2 separate regions of the Homo sapiens genome follow, and region 2 is linked to region 1. The links are contacts of gene promoters, found by promoter capture Hi-C in human tissues and cell types (Jung and others, 2019). All regions are on one chromosome and are shown on one strand. Each heading gives the region's core, a stretch centred on a gene start or on the middle of the fragment in contact. The rest is flanking DNA. Distances are from core to core; before and after follow the strand shown. Region 1 holds the start of TMEM171 (transmembrane protein 171). Region 2 has its middle 47 kb from the start of LINC02230.

Region 1 (4,775 bases), core at 1,628-4,127:
GGCTCAGCCAGAAGTACCCAGCTAAGCCACTTGCAGTTTCTGACCCTGATCAGAAACCCTGAGAATACATTTTTGCTGTTTCAAACTTCAAAGTTTTGGGGTAAGTTGTTATGCAATAATAGATCATTGATACACTTGCTTCCTCATTCCCTTCAAGTTTTTGCTGCAATCTCACCTTCTCAGAGATGCCTTCCTTAACTCCCCTATTTAAAATGGGGTGCTCCCCAGTCCCCATCTGTGATTTATTGTTCTCCCTGGCACTCAATCACTTTCTAATTCTCTGTATAACTTACATATTTTATTGCCTTTCTCCTCAATAAAATACAAGTTCCGTGTTTTATTGGTAGTTGGTAAATCTGTGCTGGCTAAATACATGAACACATGCCTCTGCTTTATGCTTCTACAGTCACTGAATTCGAGGTTTTTAATCTTGTTCTGATGCTGTTTTTCTAAGGATTCGGTCTGGCTTTTATCTTTTTCACTACCACACAGGCCAGGGAAGACCACTAGATAGTGACCAGGCCACGCAGCTTCTCTCCTAAGGCTAGGTGGGCTACAAAGATAAGTACCTCAAAGGCTGGTGGGTATGTCTTTCATACATAATCGATGATCAATTTCCAAGGAGTTTAATTTAGTCAAACAGGCTCTCATAGACACAAACAGTGAGAACAGCAGATATACCAAGTGGAGGCTAATCTGATTGTCCTTGGTGCCAGGATATTCAAGTCTGTCATGGGTGGTGAGCCTGCAGTCATGTGGCACCAGAGGGGCAGCTGTATCAACAGGCCCCTTGCAGGCCTGCACATGACATGGCCAGAGATTCAGTTTCAAATAAGGGGGAAGGGAAGAATGAGTAGGGAAAGGACAAGGAAACCCTTTTGCACAATGAAGAGTTGTTCACAGGCCTGTGTCAGAGGGGACAAATCCTATAATGAGGGCCTGAGTTCTTAGAAAGCCAGTGCCTGCTGTTGTACAATCCACTCTTGGGTATCTGCCCATTCGCTGGACATGCTTTGGTGCCCTTCCAGAAGGTGGTATACCTTGACACTTGGACCAGGAAGGATATCTCCACCCCAAACATAGATTACTGCAATGTCCTTGGGACACAGTGCCTGTATTGTTATAATAATCTAAACGTGCTTGGCATCACAAGGCCATGAGGGCGTTTTCTGGGTTCACAGCATGGTGTGTTCTCTGAGTGACAGGTGTGCTGCGGGAGAAACACTGAATGGTCAGCGCATCTGCATCTGGCTCAGGCCTTCTCTGCATGTCAACCAGCTGCAGAGGTTACTTTACCTCTGTCAGCCTGGACCTCAGTTTCCTCAACTGACAAATGACTGTTTTTCTCAGTCTCCTGTCCCCTGCTGCCTCCAACCTTTTCTGAACTGCTGGAGAGATGTAGCAAAGAACCACAAAGCAAGGGGTCGTGAGTGTTGGCATTGTTCATTTCGACAGTAATCAGGGCTGTTAGTTATGGCGGGGATTTACAGAGGTCGGGCACCCTGGCTATGAAAAAGTCCACCTTTGGCCACCCAGGCAAGTGCCCCACCAAATTCCAATGGCAAGAACTTGTCCGTTCTGCCTCCCTGGTGAACCCTAAAGCCCAGGTAACCCCCTCCCCTCTTTACCTCTCTGACTGGTTCTTTAAGTCTCTTCTCACCTCTGATGATTAGCTAAGCCTGCTTCATACTTTACCTTCAGTGAGCATGACCAGGAATCTCTTGTTGTATCAGGTAGGTAAAGTGCTTGCTTGCACATTGAAAAGTTTCATCCATTGGCCTTAACTCTAGATAGGGTTTCAGGCAAGGCAGACAGGAAGCTGAGAAGAGAAGGCAGGGCTGGGAAGTCCCCGTGGCTCAGGGCACCTCTGCGCTTGGGCAGAGAACCCTTGACTCACCTTCCACCGTGCCCTGACCCCTGGTGTGGAAACTAGCACAGTTGGATCCGTATCACGTGTCACGGGGCTGGTTACAAATAGCACAGGGATTGGCAAACTCATCCCGAAACTCCCGGTTCAAGGGCAGGGAAAGTTACCAGTTTAATTCCGGCAGATCATTAGTGGTGGAGAACCAGGAAGGGGGTTCTATCGCAAAGGAGGGCTGTGCGCAGACACGTGGGTGCGGGAGGGGCAGAGCTGGTCCGGCGCGGGGCTTGCCGCGTCTCGGCCTCAGTCTCGGAGCCAGGACCTCAGGCCTGAATGGCTGGGTGTGGAGGGCCCTTGTCTCACATTCTGTAGAGCGCACGTCGTCCCGTGACCTGGTGGCTCCATATTCGATGGGGAGCTCGCAGCGAGTCGCTTCCCTCTGTAACCCCACTCCAGGTCTCCAGAGCAGTAGGAGGGCCACAGGGCTGCTGGGTGTAGTCGCCCCGGACCTCGCGGTGGCCAAGGCCAAGGCGGCCGGGGCACGGTACCCTGTTCGGCCTGGGCCGCAACCACGAAGGAGGCGGTGGAGGCGGGGGCCGGCGCTTCCTCCGCGCCCCCCACGCCGCCGCTCTCTCGCGCCCCTATAGAACTGGGCCTCAGGCCTCGAGGGGGAGCGGGCCTCGGCGGGCGGGGCGCACAGTTCCGCCAGCCGGCGGGGGCATCTCAACTCGCCGGCCCCGCCAGGTGTGCGGGCCAGGCAGCCGTGGAAGGTGCCCATTTCTCCCAGATTCCTCGCGCGCACGGCCACGAGCGCGGAGGCTGCCAAACCCGCCAGCCCTGGGTTCCGAAGCCGCCCCTGGCTCTCCATTCCCTCGCGGGCGCGCCCCGGGCCCCCAGTGGCGGCCAGCTCCCACCGGTCGCTCCTGCACTGCCCTGCCCTGCCCTCCCCGGGCCGCCGCGCCCGCGCAGCACCGCCTCCTTCTCTAAATACTGCCGGGTCCGCCCTCCGCACCAGGACGCGCGGTGGGTAGGGTGCAGGGCGGCCGGCGCAGCCGAGGCCGCGTGCGGAGGCGGACGCCGCGCCCAGCCAGTGCCCACAGCAGCGCGGTCAGCCAGGCGCCGGACCCAGCTTCAGGTAAGCTGCCCCGGCCCGCGCGCCTGCGCCGGCGGCGGCGGGTCGGGCGCTGAGCTGTGCGGCCAGGCTGGGCGCGGGGAGCCGCGGCAGCGCGGAGGCGCTGGGTATCCGAGCCCAACCTGCGTCCCTGCGAGCCCCTCCGGCTGTTGCTTGCGCTCGGGCTCCCTAAAAGCCGCAAACCGATTTCGCACAGAAGGCATTTGCCTCTCGTTTCGTTCCCCAAACGCACCATAGCTTTGGACGTGGAGAGGTGCTGTGAATTTTGGAAATGTCTTTTGGAAAACCAATAGGAGTGTTGGAGAGGGGAGTTTGGCTTTGGGGAGTTTAAGTGTAGGGTGGTGTTTGGAAAAGGTTTCATTGCGAGTGAATGTGGGTGTCTTTGTATCCGTTTGTGAGTGCATCTGTGGGAGAAGGAGAGAGAGAGAGTATTTCCACACTATTATGGATCAGAGGTGAACACTCAGCCAGGTGCTCCGTCCACTAGTCCACGGACAAGAAACTACAGATTCAGTTTTGGGCTTCTATTTACTGGTGTTTGGGAATTTGCCTTAAGACAGTTGAAGCCTTGTGACTCACTGCAAAGTTGACTATACTGGGAATAAATGAATTCCTGATAGGACTTTGCAGCCGAGAATCACCCTTCTCTTTCTTGTCTCCGAAACCGCAAAAGAGATTGCATGATTCAGGAAAAAAATTAAAACAACAACAATAACAAAAAACCAATATATATAGGTTTCAGGACTCTCCATCGTTTCATTCCACTGAGAGTTTTGGAATGTACTCCCTGTAGGATAAATGAGGACTACTGTATACTCAATATGAAATTCTTATTCACTGCAGGATGTTACTGACTTAATAAAAAATGGGAAGATTAAAAAATTAGTGCAATGCTTTGTCTCAGCTTAACTGCATCTGTATATCAAGTTTTTCCAAGTTTGAAATGAAAGCTTTTTTCCCTCCTATATTTCCTTTTTTTCTCCAACTTCCTTCTGATTCTATCATACTTTTTCCTGGAAAAGTTTTTCCCAGTGTAAGATTGCCTGTTTGCTTTCTTTACCTAAACTGACCTTCCCTCAGTGTGATTTTGGTTTGTCAAGATCATCTTGGGCTTAGGGCCTCAGTCTTGAGTTCCTTCATGGGACCATGGATGTGAGCGGCACAAAATATTTTAAAAGTTTTCTTTCCTTGGGCAGGTGAAAATAGTCTTCACGATTTTGGATTGTCTTTGCAATTGCAGGACCTGACTTACGGGGTCCTGGTAAAATATCCCATTCATTGGAGTAAAATAAGATAACGAGATAATTAGGTCAGCTCTGTGTAAGCTAGACAACTCTTTAACAACCACTTGGCATATTTAATATATTATACCCCTGAAGTACAGGGCTTGGGTGATTTTCTGGAAGGTGCTTTCTCACTTGATTCCACTTATACTATTCTTTCAAAGCCAAGTTCCCCCCTTCCACCCATTTTGTGCTTTATAACTAGCAGTTTTATTGGCTGCTTGTTTTTTAACTGAGTCTCAACCTCTTTGTGGAAGTAGGTGACACCATGGAGGAGGGTGAGTGAGAGGCCACACCAGCCTTTGGGTACCTGTCCACTCTGAAAATTGAGCTCCTGTTGACCTGCTGTGCAACACTTTCCAGGGTCATCCCAGATCCAAGCAACTGGGTCACCAGTCTGTGCTTGTTGAGAACCCAAGAACCATTTTGTTTTGTTTTGTTTTGTTTTTGGCAGGGTCTCACTCTGTTGCCCAGGCTGGAGAGTAGTGGCGTGATC
Region 2 (4,775 bases), core at 800-3,299, 260 kb after region 1:
CTTCTGTGTCCTTGCAGCGCCCTACTTTGCCCTGGGCTTCCTGGCTTTGGGGGCTCAAGTTCGTGTTCCTGGGAATCCCTGCTTCTTGACCACAAAGAATCCAGGAGCCTCCCAGTGAGTGTGTACCAAGGTGGGGACAGAGAATGGTGGTTGGCTCCTTCCAGGGCAAGGGTCTGTCTGGAAGGTCAACACCCAGGAGACATTTTCAATCAGCTGCTGGGTGCCAAGTTGGAAGCCAAAGATTACTTGAAATAGGATTTGGTGTGTGTTTTGAATAAAAGTCGACCCGCGAGTTTATCACAAAGCTTCCCAGACTGGCTCCTGGGGCTGACGGCTCTGCTTTCTTACTGCTCTTTAAATGCTGTGGGGAATTCAGTTCAAGAAAAATGACTAAACTTGAAGCTGATAAAGCTTAAGGCATTGATTTATATTATTCCTTCCAGATTTTTCAAGTATATTAAAAGAATGTCTTTTCATCTAAAAACACTCAAAAGGTCGGAAGAGCAATGCTCTTGAAAAAGCCCTCTCCCTGCAGCTTGGTTTGCTGTTGAGAACCAAGAAGGTTAAGTAAGAACTAGAAGACACTGGTGTGACTGTTGAGTCTGAATCATGTGTCACTCCTGCATGCCCCCCACACTTACTCCAAGGACTGCTGCCTTTCAGACGCGGAGGGCTTGGGTATTGACCCCTGTTCTTCTGGGGATCTAAGCAAGGAGAGCACTGAGTCACCTATTATAACCCCTCACATTTGCTCATCAATTTCCCTTGCCTGGACTCCACAGAGGCCCTCCCACTGTCCTGTGGGCACTTCCAACTCTTGCAGACCTGGCTGCCCTCTCTGAGCCCACATCTTCCTCTGAAATCTCGATGTTCTTAGAAGGTGAAGTTGGCTTCTCTGAAATCTCAGTGTTCTTACAGGGTGAAGTTGGCTTATGATGCCAAGCAGTCATTACCTTTAAGGTGTTAAGCTATCTCAAGGAGTGCAGGGCAACTAAATTATAATGTAATTATCTTTTTAGATAAATAGTCCATCTCCTCTAAAATGTAAAACCTCTGGGGACAGTGGCCAATATTAATTGTCTGTGTTGCCTCACACCACAATACCAGATCAAGAAATGTTATCTATGTTGATTCCACAGCTAATTTGAGTAAACACAGTCCCCGCTAAAATGCTGAAAACTAGAGTGACGTTAGGGGGAGGTACCAGCTCTTCCCTTGCCATTAATTCCTGCTTCATTTTAAATGTCAATAGATTTTTCTTCTGAAACCAAACTGAGGGAGAGAGAGAGAAAAAGACAAGAGAGGAGGGCCAATGCCAAGGATAAGTTTTACCTACTGAGTCAGTATTGTACTTGGAGCTCACATTCATCACACTCTGGCTGCATTTTATTAGCTAGATTATATAATACCATATGCCTCAGTTTCTCATCTGTAAAGTGAAGATAGGCATTCCTTCCTGTTCTAATATTACAACTTACCTTATTAGTAGGCAGTAAGGTGGGGGAAAGTGCTCTCTTCACTAAAATATGAGAAAGTGAAGAAAAATCATCAGATATTTTAAGGAAACTCTTTAACAAAAGATGAAGACCAAAATGGAAAAATAAGTAACCAAGAGGAAGTAGAGAAAATTTTTAAAAACACACATAAAACAAACAAATCCTGTAAGTAAAATCTTTGAGGAGATGAGAAAAACTATTGATTGTATCCGTGAAATAAGAAAAGGATGCTCTAAAAAAGAAACATTAAGAGAATAAGGAATAAATTTTGGAAATTAAAAATGTGGTAGAAATAAATTCAGTAAAAGTTGAAGTCCAGATGAAGTTACAGAAATATTTCAAAAAAAGAATAAAAGGACCAAAAGATGGAAAAAAATAGAAACAAAAAGATAAGGAAACTAGATCAATACAGGAGGCCTAACATTCAAGTTGAATTTCTGAAAGAAAGTACAGAGATAATAGAGAGGTAAAATTATTTAATAATATGGTACAAGAACATTTCCCAGAATTAATTGGGATGACTTCCCAGACTGGAAGGACCAATTGGGTGCCCAATACAAAGAAGGAAAAATTTTTAGACCAAAGCACATAATCATAAAATTTCAGAAACTCATGAATAAATAGAAACTTCAAAACACTTCTAGAAAGAAAAACAGGTCCTTTACCAAAATCAGGAATCAAAAAGGCATTGGACTTCTCAAAAATAACACCGAAAGTGAAAAGGAAAGAGAGCAATGTTTACAATTCTAAGGAAAAATCATTTCCAGTCCAGAATTCTATATCCAGCTAAACTACCCACCAAGTGTACAGATAGAATAAAGGCATTTTCAGAAAGCAAACTTTTCACAGTTGTATCTCTCATGGACCCTGTAATAGAGGCTGGTGGCTCACCCAACAGCCATTCTTGTCATTCTTACATATTAATTTTTTTCAGGCATCACACAGCAACATGCTTCCAGAAAGCCAAGCCTCTCCCCAGCCTGAAGGAATAGCTTTGATTAATCTAAGCTAAAAACTGATCATTCCTTATCCCCTGCAAATGATTGGCTTAGAAATGAACATGCAATACAATTAAGATCAATTAAACCTGAGGAATAGTCTTCTAGAGGTATGGAAATATTTTTTTCACGTTAAAATGCATAAAAGGAAGGGCCTTACTTTTTCAGCCTTTGGATGTAATTGTGTGAGGACATGATGCTCCAAGTTGCTGTATTTATCTTATGACTCCAAGGGAAGAATCCAAATGCCAAGGATGACAGAGAAGAAAGATGGAAAGAATCTGGGTATTTGATGATGTCACTGAACCACAGCATTAATTATACCTGAAACTGGGCAACATTCAGGCTTCTTGTTATGTGAGTGCCAGAATGCAAACTCTCTGCACTTATGGTAATCTTTCAAGCTAAATTGTATAATAAGAACAATAATAATTAATGAAAATACCTACCATTGATTGAATACTTAGATACTGTTCTATGATCTTTTGATTAATGGCTATAATAAGCCTGTGAAATAAGTATATTAATCCAGTTTGCAAACGAGGAAATATAGGCTCAAACAAGTAGGCAAATGAGCCAGATTTATATCCAGTCCTGACTCCAGTGACCTAGTATTTAACTTTGATTCCACACTCAGGGCTTGTCAGATAATACTCAGACATATGATAGGCACCTGTGTCCATGGATTTGGGAAAATGTTTGGAAACAAAATATGCTGAGCTCAAACATGCACTTAATAACTACTTTTAATTCACTTCATCATTTGTCAGCATAGTTCAATTCTGTGATAACCAACTTTCAGGACTGGCCCCAATGATTCTCTTTTCCTATTATTTACACTTTTTGTTGTCCACTCCCATACTAAATAGGACTGAACTGTGTAACCAGTAGTATAGTATGGAAATGACAATGTGTAACTTTGAAGGCTAGATCATAAAACATATTGTGTCTTCTGCCTTGATTTCTCTTGGATCACTCACTTTGGGAAAAGAGAGTTGTCATGTCATACATACTGAAGAAGCCATATAGAGAGGCCCATGTGTCAAGAAACTGAAACCTCCTGCCAATATCCATGTGAGTGAGCCATCGTGGAAGTGGATCCTCCAGCCTCAGTCAAACCTTCAGATGACCACAACCCCGGCTAACACTTGAGCCATAACCAACCAGCTAAGTCACTACTGAATTCCTGACTCACAGAAACTGTGAGATAATAAACGTTTATTGTTGTAAGCTGCTCAGTTTGGGGATAAATTGTTACTCAGCAGCATATAACTTAATATTCTGGGTAATTAAATAAGCCTTCCCTTAATTTTAAAGGTAAGAAGTCACCTTAGATTTATCACTTGATGTTTTTCAAAGGAAAATATGTGGTCCTCACCACAATCCTGTGGAATTAATAGGGAAAGTGTCTTTTCAGAAAACAGATCGCAAAAGAAAAAAAGAAAAGAAAACAGATAGATCATCAGACAGACTTACTCAAGCTACCGGAGGGCCAAAATTAACAGAAAAAGCATTCAGGATCTTTTTCATATGCCTTGCCAGTATCTCTGTTAAGAAGTTGGCTTAGGCAGAAAGACCCTGAGAATCAATACAAAATAAAATAAAAATGAGAAAAATCCTTAAAGCGTCCCTAACATAAAAATATTTCCAGGCTGGGCAGAGTGGCTCATACCTGTAATCCCAGCACTTTGGGAGGCTGAGGCAGGCACATCACCTGAGGTCAGGAGTTCAAGACCAGACTGGCCAACATGGTGAAACCCCGTCTCTACTAAAAATACAAAAATTAGCAAGACTTGGTGATGCGCACCTTTAATCCCAGCTACTTAGGAGGCTGAGGCATGAGAATTACTTGAACCCAGGAGGTAGAGGCTGCAGTGAGCTGAGATAGTGCCACTGCACTCCAGCCTGGGTGACAGAGCGAGACTCCATCTGAAAAAAAAAAAAAAAAAAAAAAAAAAGTCTGTTTCCTCAGAGGCAGTCAGCATCCTATCACACTTCTGCTGCTGTCAGGCCTCTGCCCCCTTCTGGTTCTCACAGTGCACATGACTTTATGGTCTTGCATCTGATTCAAAGTTGTAGACAGTCATCAATTTTGAGAACATTCATGTATTGTGAACAGTGAAACTGTTAATGGTTATGGTGTTTATAGCTTGGGTTCAAACAGGAAACTAATAAAGATAAAATCACTGTTTGATAAGGTGCTCAAACCCCAGTCAATGGAAAGCCTGTTGCACAACAAGACTCTGACTCCATCATTGGACCCTAGATCCATTCTCAGAAA

The links. The method cuts DNA at HindIII sites, captures the fragments that hold promoters and counts their contacts. A contact is called where the count stands out against the background at its distance.
Region 2: a contact is called between a fragment that was not itself captured here and the fragment with the promoter of TMEM171 in region 1, in 1 of the 25 tissues and cell types used here (aorta).

What each region holds. Positions count from the first base shown.
Region 1 is chr5:73,117,698-73,122,472 of GRCh38, forward strand. TMEM171 (transmembrane protein 171) reads left to right here and starts at 2,878. Exons shown (of 4, transcript NM_173490.8): 1 at 2,878-2,999. LOC124901001 reads right to left here and starts at 2,794. Exons shown (of 2, transcript XM_047417978.1): 1 at 1-2,794. The coding sequence starts at 2,732. The coding sequence ends at 2,031. RefSeq lists an enhancer at 1,717-2,268. The HindIII fragment of the contact is 7,583 bases long and covers 1-4,775 here.
Region 2 is chr5:73,382,760-73,387,534 of GRCh38, forward strand. No RefSeq gene overlaps it. Among named protein-coding and RNA genes, the nearest start is that of LINC02230, 47 kb to the left of the region's middle. The HindIII fragment of the contact is 7,475 bases long and covers 1-4,775 here.